Regions from separate parts of the Homo sapiens genome. Here all the other regions are linked to region 1. The links are contacts of gene promoters, found by promoter capture Hi-C in blood cells and fetal thymus (Javierre and others, 2016). All regions are on one chromosome and are shown on one strand. The core of a region is centred on a gene start or on the middle of the fragment in contact, and the rest is flanking DNA. Distances in the headings are between cores, read along the strand shown.

What was found. Contacts are between HindIII fragments. The CHiCAGO score rates a contact against its expected background, and 5 or more counts as called.
Region 2: a contact is called between a fragment that was not itself captured here and the fragment with the promoter of PGRMC2 in region 1, in 2 of 17 cell types (naive B cells and total B cells). The highest score is 6.2, in naive B cells.
Region 3: a contact is called between a fragment that was not itself captured here and the fragment with the promoter of PGRMC2 in region 1, in 1 of 17 cell types (total CD4 T cells). The highest score is 5.3, in total CD4 T cells.

The regions. Positions count from the first base shown.
Region 1 is chr4:128,286,549-128,289,806 of GRCh38, reverse strand. PGRMC2 (progesterone receptor membrane component 2) reads left to right here and starts at 1,994. Exons shown (of 3, transcript NM_006320.6): 1 at 1,994-2,434. The coding sequence starts at 2,017. RefSeq lists silencers at 699-993, 1,365-1,554, 1,875-2,054, 2,065-2,114, 2,295-2,354. The HindIII fragment of the contact is 4,970 bases long and covers 1-3,258 here.
Region 2 is chr4:147,615,292-147,618,557 of GRCh38, reverse strand. It overlaps TMEM184C (transmembrane protein 184C), which reads right to left and starts at 1,161. Exons shown (of 10, transcript NM_018241.3): 1 at 479-1,161. The coding sequence starts at 601. It overlaps TMEM184C-DT (TMEM184C divergent transcript), which reads left to right and starts at 1,313. Exons shown (of 2, transcript NR_186679.1): 1 at 1,313-1,470. RefSeq lists enhancers at 742-791, 822-941. The HindIII fragment of the contact is 898 bases long and covers 1,468-2,365 here.
Region 3 is chr4:147,678,644-147,681,817 of GRCh38, reverse strand. It overlaps PRMT9 (protein arginine methyltransferase 9), which reads left to right. Exons shown (of 12, transcript NM_138364.4): 2 at 1,347-1,495. Among named protein-coding and RNA genes, the nearest start is that of PRMT9, 3.9 kb to the left of the region's middle. The HindIII fragment of the contact is 2,263 bases long and covers 432-2,694 here.

The DNA.
Region 1 (3,258 bases), core at 745-3,244:
ACAGCTAATAGCCCAGTTCTGGTCAATAAGATATAAGGAGTGGCCTGCTTCTGGGGTGCTTTCTTCCTTCCTATCAATGTTGTCTCAACTGTATACAGCTCTTGGGACTGCTACAGCTATCTTCTCCTCAAAACCAGTTTCTTCTTTATCTTCCTATTTCCATCACTGGCACCTCCCATTTTCTGTTACCAAGTCCTAAAGCAATTTTGACTTCTCCTAACCCTTAACCTTAAGGTGACTATTCCTTTAGGTTTGCCTGGGATAAAACTGATATAACTCCTGGTCTCTGGCTATAATTATTAATGCCCTACTTTACTTCCAAAAGTGTTCCATATTGAAGGATAGAGTATATGGTCATTTACTACCAATTGTGTCGCTCTCCCTCAGGTACCTCTAATGCAGGGCTCAGCAATATGGCTTATAAGTTGTTTTTGCACCTCTCCAGAACTAAAAAAAAAAAAATTTACATATTTCAATGATTTTCTTAAAAATCAAAAGAATATTTCATACCTGAAATTATATTAAAAATTCAATGTCCATAGTTTTACTGAAGACAGCTACACTCATTCAAGTATTGTCTATGGCTGCTTTCTCGTTACAAGGTAGAGCTGAGTAGTTAAGGCAGAGACTTAAAATATGATCGGGCCCTTTACAAAAAATGTTTGCCAACCCCTGCTCTAATGTCTCCCCTAGCTCTGAGTCTCCTCACCTCACGCACAAATACCCTAGCCTACTAACTGCTTTCCCACTCTTTCCCCAGCCTCTAATCCTTCAGACACCTGGTTGCTATACAGCCTCTCTACAAGAGTGTCGACCCTGTCACTTGCCTCGTCAATATCCTCAGTGACTCCTACAAAACCGACAGTGAAAGGTTCAAACCTATTCTATGAGACTCAAGACAACAGACAACAAAGGGCAAGAGAGAACACGTCAAACGAGTTCGTCAAACGAGTTGAGTGCGTGAGACTTCAGAGGTCACTTTTTCACACTAGAATTTCAAGGTGTGAGAGGCTAAAAGACGTCCAAGTACATGAAACAGAACCTGCAAATAAGAGTGAATGACGAATAGAAAGACCACCTCAACCTGTCCACTTCCCTACGGCCGCAGAAGTTATGATTCAAGGAATAATGAGACTCTAAATCCTTTAAAATTCTACAAGAGCAGCCTTTGCCAAACCCAGCGGGGAGTGGCTGCTCGGTGCCAGCGCGAGGAGCACGTAGACTGCCGATGCCAGAGAAGCCCGGTGCGGGTTCCGTGCTTTCTCTCCGTTCCAGGAAGACCCCAGCTCGTGGCCAAATCTTCTTGCCGCTTCCCGGTCTGCGCGCCTACGCTGCCGGTTTCCCGACAAAAGCGACGGCGCCCTGGTGAAAAGCAGACGCCCCTCATCGGTTTGCGCCTTGCAGCTCAACTATGCCCCAGCCTCCCACAAGCCACCTGCCCGCGTCCTCCGCCAGGCGTCCAGCCCGGACCTGCCCCCGCGGCCGCCAAGGCGCACGTGAAGCTCCCGGGCGGGGGGAGCGCAAGGAGGCGGGAGTTTGCGGACGCGAACGCAGGCCTAGGAAGGGAAGCGATTCCAGGGCGCACGCGCAGAGCCTGGAGACTGGGCGGGGCGTGCCTCCCGCAGGGGTTACGAACGAAAGGCGAGCGCGTGGCGCTCAGGAGCCCGCGCACGCGCTGTGGTCTCGCCCCGCCCATGAGCGTCCGCGCGGCCGTCGTAGCATCTTTTCTTCAGACCCGCCCGGCTCGTCTACTTAACCTAGCGGAGGCTTGGAGTGAGAGCAGGGAAGTGTGGGGCGAGGTGGGCGGGGCGTTGCACGCGTGCGCGGCCAGCGAAAGAAGGGAGGGGGCGGGAGATCCGAGACAACGTTACCCCGTCAACACCCAATCAGGAGCCGGCCTGACCCCGCCCCCTCTTCTCACGTTATTGGCTGAGAGGCCCCCAGATGGGCGGGGCCGGCCGTGGGGTTGGGGAGGGCAGGGGGCGGGGAGGAGGAGGAAGGCGCTGGCGGGCAGTGATGGCGGCTGGTGATGGGGACGTGAAGCTAGGCACCCTGGGGAGTGGCAGCGAGAGCAGCAACGACGGCGGCAGCGAGAGTCCAGGCGACGCGGGAGCGGCAGCGGAAGGGGGAGGCTGGGCGGCGGCGGCGTTGGCGCTTCTGACGGGGGGCGGGGAAATGCTGCTGAACGTGGCGCTGGTGGCTCTGGTGCTGCTGGGGGCCTACCGGCTGTGGGTGCGCTGGGGGCGGCGGGGTCTGGGGGCCGGGGCCGGGGCGGGCGAGGAGAGCCCCGCCACCTCTCTGCCTCGCATGAAGAAGCGGGACTTCAGCTTGGAGCAGCTGCGCCAGTACGACGGCTCCCGCAACCCGCGCATCCTGCTCGCGGTCAATGGGAAAGTCTTCGACGTGACCAAAGGCAGCAAGTTCTACGGCCCGGGTGAGGAGTTGGAAGGGGAGGGGAAGGACCCCCTGCAGCTGAAGCACAACCCCCTTCGGACAGGGAGGCCTCTGGGCACCGGGTTAGTTTGCCCAGCCTTCTCGTCTCCGGGACCCCCGCGCCTCGGCCGCCGCACCTGGGACGGCCCATCCCGCCCCTACACACACACCGTCCCCCCGCAGCTACGGGCACCTCCAGTTCTTCCCCCGAAACCAGGGTCCCCGGTGGCGCCCCAGAGACCAGCTCTCAGCATTCATCTTTCTTCCATCCCATTTCTCCTCGCAGCCTTTTTTTTTTGTTTCTTTGGCTGGATTTTTCAAAATCGTTTTAGTTGTCACAGGTCAACGCTGGCCCTTAACCTTTTTTGAGTCTCCTGATTCCTGGGATGGATGGGGCACCAGGGAAGGGAGATTTCTGAAGTTGGGACCTAAACTAAAGTTTTGGGCTCTGTAATTCACCGTTTTCTTTTCCTTGCCCCCTTTTTTTTTTTTTTTGCCACTGATCTCCTTTTTTCCCTCGCTGTATTACTCCGTAAGGCCACGTTTAGGGGCATGTAAAGTCCCAACCCTCCAGTCTCTGAAGTCCAGACGTATAAGCAACACCTCGGACTCTCTTTAAACCAGTTTTAGTTCGGAGTTGCTTTCCATGATTAACAAGGTATGTGGGATGAGAACAGACCAGAATGCAGAGCTTATTAAAGACTGGTAAGGATATTCACCTTGAGTTTTGGGGGTGGAGCTCCTATACCCAGCAGGCGTGTCTCTGGTTTCTTTTTTCTTTTTTTTTCTCTTTTCAAGTACACGTTGATAATGACTTGTGTTTTC
Region 2 (3,266 bases), core at 667-3,166, about 19 Mb before region 1:
AAGGGACTTTTTGCAAAACCTTTGTTGGGTAAGAGCTAATTTCCACAGTAAAAACAGACACCAAAGTTAAAACAACTAGAACGCTTTGATTCAAGAAGCTAGTTAAAAGCTAATAAAATTCAATACATGGTTTTCAAGGTAGTTTATTTGACCTAGTTTCGTCCAATGTCTGAACAGATCAGATTTCAGCAATAAAATTACCTTACTTTCAGGGAACTGATGAATACTTGCAAAACAGTGCCCTTCTAAGCAGCTATATTAATATATTCTATTTTCTCGACCCGGTCCCACCTCCACCTGTAGCATGACTTGAAGAACCGTGAACAAGAAATTAGACAGGTTTATATCCTAAGAGTAGGCTCGTTTACATTAGATGGTTTTCAGGACTGTCAGGGCAGAAATGGGGTAAGGGTGTCTCTTTCCCAACCATAGATGGGTAGAAGAAAGTGTACAGGCTGATGGTGCAGAACCCTCTTACCTCCAGTTTCTGTAATTCCCACACGCATAGGGGAACCGCAACCACTATTGACACCAGGTAGATGACCGCTACTAAAGGTCGAATCCACTGTCTCCAGTTCCTCCAGGTACAAGTGCAAGGCATGTTTTCGCACAAATCAGATCCGGTTAGCAAGGGAAAAGATCTCGAAAAGATTGTAATGGGGAGCCCTGTTCTCTGGCTGTTTTGTCAACTCGCATACTACGGAGAAAAAGCTGTCGGGCGACTTTACGAACAGCTCGAGCCGCCTCCTGGACCGGCGCTGTGTCTTCTGCTGCTGCTGCTTCTGCAAATGTAGCCTCTCAGGGTGCTATTGGCGAGCAGTGCAGGCAACATCCTTTCTTCTCCACCCCGCATCTACCCGGTTGTACTGCGGTGGAATCCCAGGCAGAGCCGCTGCCCTCACCTGGGGATCGCCCTGAGCTCTGCCTGTACCATGGCTTCCAGGAGAGCAGCACAGACCAGGAACCGGCCTCTAGGGACCCTGCACACTCCGGTTCTGTCTCGCAGCTGCCTGCCCACTCGCTCTTTTCTTTGGGGATCGAGCTTCCTACCTCCCGCACTGGCAGGCGTCTCTTCAGTCGATTCCGCTAGTAGGTAAGGCCCCAGGATCTCCTCATTCTTTCGCACGGGACCTCCCCTACAGCGGAACCCAAGGCCAAACCAAGACTTTCAGCTCTTTTCCGCTTCCGCCCCTGCTGTCTGAGGCAGGTGATTCGTCGTCAGCGCCAAACTGGGCCCGCCCCATCCGACTCACTTTGCGCCCTCTGATTGGTCAGCTGTGGGGGCGGGGCTGCAGGATTGCGTACTGGGGTTAGAAAGAAGAGCAGGTGCGTGGAAGTGGGTGGAATTGCCGCAGATGGTCCAGCGGGCTATTGCAAGGATTCTGGAAGCTGCGGGAATTATTTGAGGACACTTGAAGCACACCTACTACATTCTTCTGCTGGCGTTATTCCAGTTTAAAGAAAGCTTGGGTAAGGGGCGGTTACTTCAGAGTTGGACTGGAAGAGAGAAGGCCCATCTCTACACAAAACATCCCCTATTCAATCTAGAGTGGATACAGAAGCCCGCTGGAGTAAGAAGACAAGGAAGAATGGGAAACCTCCACCTAGTTTTCTGTCAGTTGCTAGAATCTAGGGGCTAGGCCGCTTGGTTATTTCTGGATCCTACAGAAGGATCATTCTAAAGGTAGCTTCATTTTAGAATTAACCGCAAATAGGGAATGTCCCTTCTACATTTGGAACTTGTGTTAAAAATTTGCACTCATTTAAGTTTTAAAAAGTTGACATTCCATCTGACAAAGGAGTTTCATATGCTTAAAGCCTTTAGCTAAACCAATAGAGTAAACAAATATCTACTACTCAATTACATATACAAATGCGTTTTATATTGTAATTGTAATTTTCAGGGGGACAGGCACTGTACTAAGTTCATTACCTACATTATGTAAGTTGTTCTGCACAAAAATTTTGAGAGGTAGGCATTTTTCCACTTTACAGATAAAAAAGTCAAGTGGCTGATAAATTTGCCCAGGCTCACTGAGCTAGTTAAGTGGTAGTGTGGAGATAGCAACCTTGGTCTTTGTGACTCCAAAGGGCATTATATTTAAGCATTTGACCTGCTAGTACCTGCCACCTGGGGAATTTCCGCCTAATGACCATACGGATAAGGAGGCTTGTAACATTGAGTACACCTAGCCCAGGAGTCTCACAGAGACACCTAAGGAATATTATGAGCCCCTTTTTTGGTATCGTCTGTTTGGACTTGACTTCACTGCCTACTTCTCAGTTGTTAACATTTGTATTTTACAACCTGACCCAAACTACTTTCTACCGGAAAAATAGGCCTTATGTTTGTTCTTCCTAAGCTTACTTTAAAAATGGAAATTAAGGCTGGGTGCAGGGGCTCATGCCTGTAATCCCAGCAGTTTGGGAGGCGGAGGTGGGCGGATCATGAGGTCAGGAAATCGAGACTATCCTGGCTAACACAGTGAAACTCCGTCTCTACCAAAAATACAAAAAATTAGCCAGTTGTGGTGGCGGGAGCCTGTAGTCCCAGGTACTCAGGAGGCTGAGGCAGGAGAATGGCGTGAACCCGGGAGGCGGAGCTTGCAGTGAGCCGAGATCAAGCCACTGCACTCCAGCCTGGGCGACAGAGCGAGACTCTGTCTCAAAAAATAAATAAATAAATAAATAAATAAAATTAATTAAAAAAAATTCCTGATCATTAAATTAATGCTTGCTCTGTTGTTAAAGTTCATAAAAAAGAAGAATAATGAAGAGAAAGTTAATTTTACTCTACGGCCAAGTATAACTACTCTTTACTTGTTTGGTACACAGTAGAGGCTATCTTGGATATGCCGTATGCGTAGATTGTCTCTGTGCTTTCAGCTACAGCGTTTTTGCTGCCTATAATCTTTCCCATTCTTTCTCATGGGCAAACTTTTTTTGCCTAATTTGTGAGACCTTCCTTTATTTTTGTTTCCCCATGTATTCTTACAGCATTTATATGGTATTATACTCATTTACTTATTTGTCTTGTTTAGATTTTGAATTCCTAAAGCAAAAATCTAAATCCATTAGAAAAAAGCAAAAGAGAGAAGAGATGAGACAGATGCACAAATGATTTCACATACCAGTTTGCGAACTGGAATTCTTCTATGGTGAAATTTCTTCAGCTCAGCAGAGAAATTAAAAACAAAATTACAGATTGAGTATGCCAAATCTGAAAATCTGAAATTCAGAATGCTCCCAAATCCAAAACTTTTTGA
Region 3 (3,174 bases), core at 314-2,813, about 19 Mb before region 1:
TTCATATAATCTGTGCGGGGTTTTTTTTTTTTTTATAGAGTCTCACTGTATCACGCAGGCTGGAATGCAGTGGTGCGATCTCGGTTCACTGCAACCTCCACCTCCTGGGTTCAAGCAATTCTCCTGCCTCAGCCTCCTGAGTAGCAGGGATTATAGGTGTTCGCCACCGTGCTTGGCTAATTTTTATATTTTTAGTAGAGATGGGGTTTCACCGTGTTGGCCATGCTGGTCTTCAACTCCTGACCTCAGGTGATCTGCCTGCCTTGGCCTCCCAAAGGGCTGGGATTACAGGCATGAGCCACCGTGCCCGGCCAGAATCTCCTTTCTTATCCTTGTCTCTCTAGTAAACTCCCTCAAGATTCAGTTCCAAATATCAACGCTTTTGTATAAAATATGTGAAGATGATTTAAAATGTTTTAATGACTAAAGCTTTCCCTCTTTCCACAGTATTGCAGCATGGAGAATGGATGGAGGGAGATGCAGTTGGAATTAGAGTGACAGCGTTAAGGCTGTTGCTGTAGTCCAGCAAGTGGTTACAAGGGCCAGATTAGGTTGTAACTGTGGGAATGGAGAGGAGGTAACAGATTTAAAGATATTGAGAGAGCATTGGCTAGGTTTGAAACAGTGTATGTGGAGTTAAGGTACCATTATAAGGTGACTTTGTGGTTTGAGGTTGAGTGGTGTCTTAATCTTATAGCCTGTGTCAGAGGAGTATGATGAGTTCAGTGTAGAACATTTTGAACTTTTCCAAAATTAAATTTCTCTCTATAGGGCCTCTGTGAGGATAAGAACAAGATTTATGTTGCTTCAGTTCTTTGCACAAGGATTGTTCAGGAAATATTTGAGTTGGACTACATTTGCAATGGCTGGAGATCCATTGCCGGGTTGAAATGACTAATAGGAAGCTGTATCTATGAGTCTGAGGTTCAGAAGAGAAGGTCTTGACTAGAGATGTAAATGTAGCATCCATTAACACATGGGTGATAATAAATGCGTTAGGGATGGATGAGTGAAAAAAGAAGAGGGCCAAGGACAAACTCCAAAAACACAGGAGCCGACAAAAGTGAGGCAGTTCTGGAGAATAAGGAGAATGTGATACAGCAGCTAAGAGTGGGGGGAGTTTAGAGAGTGGTCAGACTAATTCTGCTTATTATTGCCATGTAGGTGGTAAAATTCATTCATTTGTGCACTTGTTCAGAAAACAGTGCCTACTAAAGTTAAATGAAGTTTAAGGTGATTGTTCAATAGTGATTAAGTTCGATTGCTTGGAATCTTCAACTAATGATGTATATTCTTTCATCTTTTATGTTATTGACTAATTCATAATTTTTTTCTTATTTGTAAAGGAAACTTTTCAGTACACACTTTTCAGATGGGCTGAAGAGCTTGATGCTCTCAGTCGGATACAAGACTTACTTGGTTGCTATGAGCAGGCCTTGGAACTGTTTCCTGATGATGAAGTGATTTGCAATAGTATGGGGGAGCATCTCTTCAGGTTTGTAGTGATTTTAGTATTACTTGTTAAGAATTATTCTGTATTAGTCTGGATAGGGATAAATCATACTGTAATTTTAACAGGGAAAGTTTAATATGGAGAATTATTAAGGAGAATTGAAAAGAATAGCAGATATATAATAATCATAGCAGTTTTAATATTTTGTAATATACGGCATAATAGCCACTGCCCTTAGGAGTAAGACAGAATATCCAAGGAAGAGTTCCCCTCACTGGGCTGAGTGCCACCCCTTATTGGAGAGGGCACAGCTGTGATTCTTAGGATGGCAGAAAAGTCACTGTAGTGCCTTGCCAGGGAACTTCTTGTAAATTTGTTTTCTGGACCTGGGTATAGTTTTGCCTCTTGGGATGCCAGAGAAAGCCTCATGGGGAAGTATCTTATCAGAGGTACTCCATTACAAAACCATGTAGTAGGGTAAGAAGCCTTGGGGAAGCTGCTGACCCTTGGATGCTGCTAGCTGCCATGCATTTCAGGAGCTTGGTGCTAGACAAGCCCTGTGCAGGAAGCAAAACTCTTTCTTGCTACAGTGTCTCTCCAGCACTGTTTTTTTTGGGGGCAGAGTCTCACTTTGTAGCCCAGGCTGGAGTGAAGTGGCGTGATCTCAGCTCACTGCAACCTCTCCACCTTCTGGGTTCAAGTGATTCTCGTTCCTCAGCCTCCTGAGAAGCTGGCATTACAGGCGCCTGCCACCCCACCCAGGTAATTTTTGTATTTTTAGTAGAGACAGGGTTTCACCATGTTGGCCAGGCTGGTCTCGAACTCCTGACCTCAAGCGATCCACCCGCCTCAGCCTCCCAAACTGCTGGGATTACAGGTGTGAGCCACTGCGCCTGGCCTCCAGCACTTTTTTTTTTTTGAGACAGTGTGTCACTGTGTCGCTCAGGTTGGAGTGCAGTAGCACCATCATGGCTCATGGCAACCTTGACCTCCCAGGCTCTGGTGATCTCACCTCAGCAGCGCCCCCACCTGCACTCCAGTAGCTGGAATTGCAGTACATGCCACCACACCTGGCTAATTTTTTGTCTTGTTTGTAGAGACAGGATTTTGCCATGTTGTTGCCCAAGCTGGTCTGGAACTCCTGGGCTCAAGCGATCCTCTGGCCTTGGCCTCCCAAAGCACTGGGATTACAGACTTGAGCCACTGCACGCGGCCTCTCCGCACTTTTTACCAACAAAGCTTACCCTTGTGCCAACTGGTGGGAGAATATTAAAGGGCCAGATACAGTTTTCACAGAGCAGGCAAAAAAGGGTGAATTTGGCAATAAGTTGATAACTTACATGTTGGGAGTCTTGGAACCACTCCCAGATTTGCTGATTTGCTGGAAGGGCTCACAGGCCTCACCATGTAGTCCTAGTCATGGCTCTTGTGTATTACTGTGAATGGATACAAAGCAAAATTTGCAAAGGGTAAATGTGTATGGGGCAAAGTGTAAAGGAAAACCAGGTGCAAGCCTCCAAAGTTCCTTTTTCAGTGAAGTCACGCAGGATGCACTTCATTCCCACGGTGAGTTATGACAGTACACGTGAAATGTTGCCAACCAGGGAAACTCATTAGAGGCTCAGTGCCCAGGGTTTCTACTGGGAGCTGGACACTTGGGTACCCTCTGCCTGGCATATACTAAAATCCTAGATTCCCAGAAGAAAAGCAGGTCAGCTGTT